Linked DNA regions of Homo sapiens: all the other regions are linked to region 1. The links are contacts of gene promoters, found by promoter capture Hi-C in blood cells and fetal thymus (Javierre and others, 2016). All regions are on one chromosome and are shown on one strand. The core of a region is centred on a gene start or on the middle of the fragment in contact, and the rest is flanking DNA. Distances in the headings are between cores, read along the strand shown.

Region 1 (2,881 bases), core at 285-2,784:
GTTTATTGGACCAAACTGGGTGGTCATGTCTGAAAATCGAGCAAGGCCTGGGATTTGTCACTATGGCTGAGACCGCATTCTCTGATAAGCCTGGGAGAATTTAACTCGCATCCTTGGGGGAAAAAACAAGAAAACTAAATGCTTCCCTTCCAACACTGAAATGCTGGGGGAAAGCAGTGAAAGAGGTATTTAGAGTTCTGAAGACTGAAGTTCAGTCAACAAGTATTTCTTGCTTTTCTTGACCAAACTACCCAAGTGCTCAGCCGCTGGGGACTTGAGTGCCACCCAAACTTGTCAGCCACTGGGGACTTGCGTGCCACCCAAGCTTGTATTAATCAGGCACTAGCTTCTTTTAAATATTGGATGCCCACCAGTATAGGGGAGCCGTGCCTCTATCGAAAAATAAAGGCCTGATGTGGTGGCTCATGCCTGTAATCCCAGCACTTTGGGCGGCCAAGGCGTGTGGATCGCCTGAGGTCAGGAGTTCGAGACCAGCCTAACCAACATGGTGAAACCTTGTCTCTACTGAAAATACAAAATTAGCCGGGCGTGGTGGCACGCACCTGTAATCCCAGCTACTCGGGAGGCTGAGGCAGGACAATCACTTGAACCTGGGGGCAGAGGTTGCAGTGAGCTGAGATTATGCCATTGTACTCCAGCCTGGGCAACAAGAGCAAAACTCTGTCTCAAACAAATAAAAGAAAAGAAAAAATTTGAATTCTACAGCAATTCTTCACAACCATCTTGGTAAACAGTGTAATTTCCACACAAGACAGAACTGGGGTGTGGTGGAATGTTAGTTACCTGGAATATACTGACACTTCACAATATCAATTACACCTCCTCCCAAGGAGGTGCTGACTTTGCTCCAGATTTTTCTATGGCCTCTTTGTGCTCACTGTGCCTTGTTCTTTCCGAGTAACAGGAGGGAAAAGAAAAGTCTCTACCCAGGGACAAAATTCAAGGCAGTCTTCTTCCCCCGTGTCTTTCCCCTCTAAGCCAACAGGTCCGTCTAATTGAAGGACAGCTGTATGCCACGTCACCATGCAGGGGTCACTTAGTTTTAAGATGCTAAAGTGAAGCAAATAAATACAGAAAATACACCATCAATTTTTATTATAGAGAAATAGCACTGTTTTTGCTCAAAAGACACCTTTGAATACTGTGCAGGGACTGGAGTGATTTCCCTGCAGCGTTGAGCTGACAGCTGCTAGGGGAAGACCCCTGCCTGCCTTTCCCGCTGCAGACTGTGTATGTCTTTCCTTCACAGCCGCTTTGGCAGAGATCACGGAGATGGTGGCACAGCTCCACGGTACGATGATCAAGATGGAGAATTTCCAGAAGCTGCACGAACTCAAGAAAGATTTGATTGGCATTGACAATCTTGTGGTTCCGGGAAGGGTAAGCAGCAGTGGCCTCACTATGCACTGCGCGGGGAGCAGAAAGGAGGCATCGGAGGGACTTACATTTGAACCTTTTGAAGAGAGACCCTTGCAAAGCAAAATGTCCTCTTTCCATCCACCTGGGAGACAACTGGAAAAACACAACAGTGTCGTTAGTTCAGAATCATTGTGTTCGGAGGAGATAAAGCAATCCTCTGACCTCATATTCTGCTTTTTCTCCTTACGGGGTGATTCGCTTCTTTACCTTTTCCCCTACCATATCCCACAGAAGATTTGAGATTGCTTATTTTATTTTTTTTAAATGTACATAAATGAAAATGGAAAATTAAAAAAAAAATTAGGTAAATAGTAATAAAGCCAGAAAGGTAGTGCATTAAATTATGCTAGAAATTCCCATGCAGGTATGAAGTGTTTTTTTAAAATTCAATCTTCCATATATAATTTAATTTGAGTTCAAAATTAAAATACCAAATCTTAGCTGGAAAGCAATTCCAGGAGAGATGCAAGTTCACTGACACTGTCGCCTACCCCTCCCCAGCCCCCTGCCTGAGATGCAGGTGATTCCTACTCAACAGGGCTTCCCGCACACACTCCTTCCAGGCCAGTGACAATGTGGAGGACAGGAACAAAGCCTGCCTTCTCCACTTCCCTTCCTAGAAAGCCATCATCACCCAGGAATCAAACGTATCATTCAGTTGCTGCGTCTCATCAAATCTCTCTCTGGGATCTTTACCCTGTGGCGCCCCCATTTCAAATGCTACGTCACCCAGGTCGAGAGACAACTCACTGTAGCTGCTTTGATCTGCTGCTGCAGGATCCAGTATCTCAGGGGCTTTTAGTCTTTTTCCAACAAGCAGCTGCCCTGGAAACTTGACATCTGTAACTCAGGGCAGGGGAAGGAAGCTCTCCTTGTTTTGGAGCATTTCTGTCAGGAAGCCTAATTACAGAACTGACCAGAAGCCACGTTGTGAGAGATTGTCAGAAGAGCCATGCGGTAAGCGCTGGCAGAAATTAGAGCTGGGATGGCCTCAGCTCTGCTGGTGACAAGATCCTGCCAGGCCTCGGCACTTAATGACCTTATTTACCCATCCACACGGAACCCTCAGAAAAGCCCTGTGGAATCGATGTAATTTTCTCTCAGCTTTGAAAGTTATAAAATATTTAGCATCTCATGCTACATGGTGAACAGACCACTGATAAAGAATTCCTTTTTTTGAGGAAATGTTTTCCACTGCAATGGAAAGAACCTTGGATTGGAGGAGGTGGCCCTGGGTTCAAAGTCTCGCTCTACCAGTGCCGGGGTGGCGGGGGACCATGCACATGGAGACCATGGCCTCTCCCTCATAGGTCATTAAGATCAAATGAGATTTGCTCTGTGAAAATGACATAATACATATTAATTATCTTCGTTTTCCCCCACCTACATTTAATTGAAGAGATGAAAGGTAGCCATAGAATAGTGGCATTAACTACATTGC
Region 2 (2,881 bases), core at 286-2,785, 320 kb after region 1:
ACCCTTGATATTGAAAAGTTAGGACTTCAGTAAAAATCAAATCGGTTTTTGCATATCAACTTTTTTGTTGCTATTCACATGCTATGTCAATCTCAGTTGCAAACAGAGAGGACCAGTTGCAGACTAGAACGCATCAATTCATTTGGAAAGGAGGCTTCAAATCTAACTCTGTATTCCTTCACCAATAACCAGGCAGCTGCCTCTAACAGCTCTCGGGATTGGATCTGCTGGAAATGCTAAACACGGGTCATAAATTCCAACTCAACAAGGATGCTGCTCAGGTATTTGGTATTTGATGATCAACAGAAATAGTTCAGAGCACCTCCCAGCAAAGTTGCATAGAGTGACAGGTGGGACTTGTTTGAGGGCGGGACCCAGAACTGCAGCCCAGGAATCTGCCTGCAGAGCTGAGCTCGGCCACAGTCTCCGCCAGAGAGGGAAGTTGCAGGTCTTTCTGGAACAGGCACAACTGGCTACAATTAGAAGTCCAAAGTGTGAACCACTCACTGCTTCTCCTTAGGAACCACCACATGCTGTGTCCGGCAGGCATTCTGAGAGCCAGAGGACGGCTGCACCCTGGGGCTGGGCACTGACACACATCACTCCACCAGGACCACTGAGGCAGCCACCGACCGACATTCCTGTCTACAGGCTCAGATCCCCCTCAACAACGTGGCCACATCTTCTGCAAAATGCTGGCCGGGGGCATCCATGGCACAACTTTGGGAAGCTGACTGGGCTTCCTCATCTTTAAGAAAGCAGCGGGCTGGGCTGCTCCCAGCAGCTCTGGCTCTGCTTCCGTTCATTCTCTCTGGGTCTGCCTTAGTTCCAGGGTGATTAATTCGGAAGCGGGGCAGGAGTCAAGTTGCCTCCTAGCTGTTTTGCTGACGCTCCAGCCCCATCAAGAGCCAGCTCCTCACCTTCTGTAAGGCACAGAAGGTGCCTCAAATTAAGCCAGGGGACAGTGCAGAGGGTTAAGAGGGGGCCACAAAGAGAGGCCCCATCTCCTCTTGGGCCAGGGTTCCCTGCGGAACTCCAGGGTCACCTCGCCAGCCAGAGGCAAGACAAGTGCAAAGGCAGCCACAAGGCTTCCGCCAGTTAGACGGTGTTTCTGCCGCCCCTGCCGTCACCCGCTGGGTCCCGTCCCGCTCCAAGCGCACTCCCGGCCCGCAGGGTGGGAATACGAGGATTACAGTGCCCCACGGGCGGGCGGGCCAGGATCGCAACCTCGGCGGAGTCGGCGCCTCTGGGCACCTCTGGCTTCCGCGCCCCGGCCGCACGGTGACCACCCGGGAGGGGATCCCGGGCGCCCCGCAACCTCCCGGCCCCCGTGGGCCTTCGGGTCGCCCCGCTTCCCGCCGCCGCGTACCCTTCGCGCCTCCCGGCCCTCGGTGCCGGCCCCCGCCCCGCGTAGCTCCGAGTCTTTAGCCCGGCCGGCCCCCCACCCGCCGAGCGTACCCATGGCGGCGGCTCCCAGGGCTCCTGCGACCTGCCGGCGGGACGTGCTCCTGGCAGGTGCTACTCCTCCGACCTGACGTCCAGGCCCGGCCCCGTTGCCCCAGGTACAGCCCCAGCTCTGCGAGGCGGGGCCGCCGGCTCCACCCGGGGGGCGGTGCTGCGGGGAGCAGAGGTCCGTGCTCCCGAGCCGTCGCGCGTGGACACCAGCCCCGGCCCAGGTGCGGGTGGGCCCCGACGGGAGCGCGTGGCAGGCCGGGGGAGAGCCAGTCTAAACGCGGATTCCCAGGCCCCACCCCCCGGCCAGCTGACTCAGGAGGTCGGGGCTGGGGCCCCAGAATGTGCATTTCTAAGAAGTCTAAGGGGAGGTTGATGCTGCTGGATCCAGAACGACACTTTGGAAACCACTGTGGGAGGAACGCACGCTTCTGGGTGGGGAGGCAAAACACGGTGGGACAGTGGTCAGCTGTGTGTGTGTGTGTGTGTGTGAGAGAGAATGTGTGTGTGGGTGTGAGTGAGGATTGTGTGTGAGTGTGTGTGTGTGAATGAGGATTGAGTGTGAGCATGTGTGAGAATATGTATATAGTTTGCATGTGAGAATGTATGTGTGATGTGTGTGTGAGAGTGTGTGTGAGAGTGTGTGTGTGGCTTTATTTTGAGATTCAACCTTTGAAAGCATTTCTGGGGGATTCTACATTTCCTTTCTTTAAGAATCATCCTTTCTTTAAGAGGACACAACCAAATGGAAGAATATTCTATGCTCATGGATAGGAGGAATCAATATCGTGAAAATAGTCATACTGCTCAAGGTAATTTATAGATTCAATGCTATGCCCATCAAGCTACCAATGCCTTTCTTCGCAGAATTGGAAAAAACTACTTTAAAGTTCATACGGAACCAAAAAAGAGCCCCCATAGCCAAGACAATCCTAAGCAAAAAGAACAAAGCTGGAGGCATCATGCTACCTGACTTCAAACTATACTACAAGGCTACAGTAAGCAAAACAGCATGGCACTGGTACCAAAACAGATATATAGACCAATGGAACAGAACAGAGGCCTCAGAAATAACACCACACATCTACAACTATCTGATCTTTGACAAACCTGACAAAAACAAGCCATGGGAAATGGATTCCCTATTTAATAAATGGTGCTGGGAAAACTGGCTAGCCATATGTAGAAAGCTGAAACTGAATCCCTTCCTTACACCTTATACAAAAATTAATTCAAGATGGATTAAAGACTTAAATGTAAGACCTAAAATCATAAAAACCCTAGAAGAAAACCTAGGCAATACCATTCAGGACATAGGCATGGGCAAGGACTTCATGTCTAAAACACCAAGAGCAATGGCAACAAAAGCCAAAATAGACAAATGGGACCTAATTAAACTAAAAAGCTTCTGCACAGCAAAAGAAACTAC
Region 3 (2,881 bases), core at 211-2,710, 260 kb before region 1:
CTTAGCAGTGTCGTCTTCAAGGTTCATTCTAGTTGTAGCATGTGATCCTTAAAAGGATCAGTTTAAATCTTTAAAAGGATTTCCTTCCCGTTAAGGCTTAATAGCATTCCATTGTGTGTGTGTATCGCATTTTGTTTGTCCATTCATCCATCCATGGACACTTGGGTTGTTTACACCTCTTGGCTTTTGCAAATAATTCTGCAGTGAACATGGGAGTGCACATACCTCTTTGAGATCCGGATTTCAATTCTTTTGGTTACATACTCAGGCATGGGATTGCAGGAAGACTGTCATCTCTCTCATCTTACTCAACAGGCTGCTTCTCCCCAGTGTACATACAGACTTGAGTCTTTCTTATCTCTTTTTTCCTAAAAGAACAAAAAAATTTATTTAAATGTGAGAATTATGGGAAACCTAAGCCATGGGAATTGGACACTCATGGGGGTCTTCTGTGAAATGGGACTTGCCCCCACCTTCTGCAGCCTGAAGCTTTTGCAGTTTCGCCATCAGTTCTTTGGCGGGGTTAAAGATGCCGCCGGTTGGCTGGTCACAGATGTAGCAGCGCGGGGTGGCCCGGAAGTGCTCCAGCGCGCAGCTCTCGCAGAAATAATGCCTGCACTTGGTGACGACTGGGTTTTGGAAGGCCTGGCGACATATGAAACACCTGAATGGTATTTCCTCTTCCTCGCTTCCCACTTCATGGTTTTCGTCCTCGCAGATACAGTAGCGACCCTCTTCAAGCTCCCGTTCAATCTCCCACCCGAGCTTGTAATCGGAACGGTCGTGGAGGAATTTGCAGCTGTCCCCGAAGCCACAGAAGCCAGTCTCCTTGTAGTCCTTGCAGATGTCAGGCTGGTAATCCCAGCGCACAGTGGCGCGCAGATGCCCTGGCGCACGTATGGGGCCCTTCCTCGCCATCCCCGAGGAGGAGTTGCCCATGGACGTGTCCTTGGGCTTCAGGTACCTCAGGTAGCTGTGGATTCCCCGGTAGATGTGGTCGTGCTCCCGACCCCGCAGTGCCTCCTGGACCCGCTGGCTGCACTTGAGGATGGTCGGCGTATGGTGCTCCTTCTCGGTGTCCTGCTCGAAGTCAGCGGTGGCCCCCATGTCCTCTGGCCCCACAGGCTTCGCCGAGCGGGTGGACCTGTACACCACGTCGAGGCTCTCAGGCGCCGCCTCCTCGCCCCTCCTGTCGCCGTGAGCCGCCTTCTGCCAGCTGTGGAGGCCCCGGGGCCTCGGTGCCACCCGCGGGGGCTGAGCCACTGTGTCGCCCTCGTCCCCGCTGCTGCTGCTCTCTCCGTGCTCGGGGTCGCAGGCCGGGCGCTTTCTGAGGCCTGCAGCCCCTTTCCGTCCAGGCTTTTTGAAGAGGAAGGTGCATACCTGGTCTGCTTGGTCGGCCGTCCTTCCTGGAGAAGGTGGCGCTGCCATGTTTGAGTCTCAGGCTCCCAACGGCCGTGGCGTGCGTCACCCTTGCGTCGCCCTTGCGTCGCTGCACGTGGGGCGTGGGCCCTCCCAGTTCTAAAAAGCAAAAGCAAGTGAAAGAAAAGCTTCTGCTAGGCCAGGCGCGGTGACTCACTCTTGTAATCCCGGGACACTGGGAGGCCGAGGTGGGAGAATCACCCGAGGTCAGCAGTTTAAGACCAGCCTGGCCAACATAGCGAAACTCCATCCTTACTAAAAATACAAAAATTACCTGGGTGTGGTGGCGTGCGCCTGAAGTCCCAGCTACTAGGGAGGCTGAGGCAGAAGAATCGCTTGAACCCAGGAGGCAGAGGTTGTAGTGAGCCGAGATCACGCCACTGTACTCTAGCCTGGGTGACAGAGCGAGACCCTGTCTCAAATTAAAAAAAAAAAAACCAAAAAAAAAGGCTTCTCCCGCCCTTCCCTCCCTTGACCTGCCTCCTGGCCCTCAGATGGATTCCTTGAGAGAGTCATCTTCACTTGCTCCTCAGCTCCCTCAGTGCACACTCATTTTTCAACAGATTCCTAAAAGGCCACGGGTGGAATCATTCCAGGCCATAGCGAACCGGTGGTGCTCATCCTAAAACACAGGCGCTTGAAATGCGTATTTAAAAGCAACACACGCGCAGTGCAGAAAACAAAAACAGATACAAGCAAAAAGTAAGACGCCTATAATCCCTCCCCTCAAAGATAACCACTGTCAACACTTTTGTGTCTATTCTTTTAATATAGCCTTTATTAAAAGACTGTCATATCACACTGCACCTGTGGGTGTGTAGCTGGCTTTCATTTTGAAATAAAAGTAACACATGTAAACATTTAAAAAAATATTATCAAGCACTTATTGTAATGGAAATTGGCTGTCCCCTGCCTGGCCCCTCCACACGCCAATTCCTGGTACCTAAGATAATCATTTTTAATTTTTTTTTTTTTTTTTTTTTTTTGAGAAAGAGTCTCGCTCTGTCGCCCAGGCTGGAGTGCAGTTACATGATCCCGGCTCACTGCAACCTCTGCCTCCCGGGTTCAAGCAATTCTCCTGCCTCAGCCTCCTGAGTAGCTGGGATTACAGGTGTGTGCCACCACACCCAGCTAACTTCTGTGTTTTTAGTAGCGACAGGGTTTCACCATGTTGGCCAGGCTGGTGTGGAACTCCTGACCTCAGGTGATCCACCCACCTTGGCCTCCTAAAATGTTGGTATTACAGGCGTGAGCCACTGCACCCCGCCTTCAAATATTTTTAACCCTTTTTTTTCTTGAGTTTATCTTCAAGTTGTGAAATAATTCATTTATATAATGTAAATGGATTCTAGTTCTTATTTAGCCAGTGCATGTCATAAAGTGTTACATGCAATTTCTTTTTCTAATTTAGGTTCTATCTCTTTACTTACTAGAATGGAAGATGAGATTCAGCTCACTTGTA

The links. The method cuts DNA at HindIII sites, captures the fragments that hold promoters and counts their contacts. A CHiCAGO score of 5 or more calls a contact.
Region 2: the fragment with the promoter of SLC15A1 here is called in contact with the fragment with the promoter of FARP1-AS1 in region 1 in 9 of 17 cell types (activated CD4 T cells, M0 macrophages, erythroblasts and 6 more); the score reaches 10.8 in activated CD4 T cells.
Region 3: a contact is called between the fragment with the promoter of RNF113B here and the fragment with the promoter of FARP1-AS1 in region 1, in 2 of 17 cell types (erythroblasts and endothelial precursors). The highest score is 6.6, in erythroblasts.

Annotation. Positions count from the first base shown.
Region 1 is chr13:98,434,306-98,437,186 of GRCh38, forward strand. FARP1-AS1 (FARP1 antisense RNA 1) reads right to left here and starts at 1,535. Exons shown (of 2, transcript NR_046595.1): 1 at 1,467-1,535; 2 at 1,100-1,353. FARP1 (FERM, ARH/RhoGEF and pleckstrin domain protein 1) reads left to right here. Exons shown (of 27, transcript NM_005766.4): 19 at 1,271-1,401. The HindIII fragment of the contact is 3,650 bases long and covers 324-2,881 here.
Region 2 is chr13:98,751,137-98,754,017 of GRCh38, forward strand. It overlaps SLC15A1 (solute carrier family 15 member 1), which reads right to left and starts at 1,536. Exons shown (of 23, transcript NM_005073.4): 1 at 1,459-1,536. The coding sequence starts at 1,462. The HindIII fragment of the contact is 4,199 bases long and covers 1-2,855 here.
Region 3 is chr13:98,175,809-98,178,689 of GRCh38, forward strand. RNF113B (ring finger protein 113B) reads right to left here and starts at 1,461. Exons shown (of 2, transcript NM_178861.5): 1 at 474-1,461; 2 at 1-368. The coding sequence starts at 1,428. The coding sequence ends at 355. The region is part of intron 1 of FARP1 (FERM, ARH/RhoGEF and pleckstrin domain protein 1); the gene reads left to right. The HindIII fragment of the contact is 1,058 bases long and covers 488-1,545 here.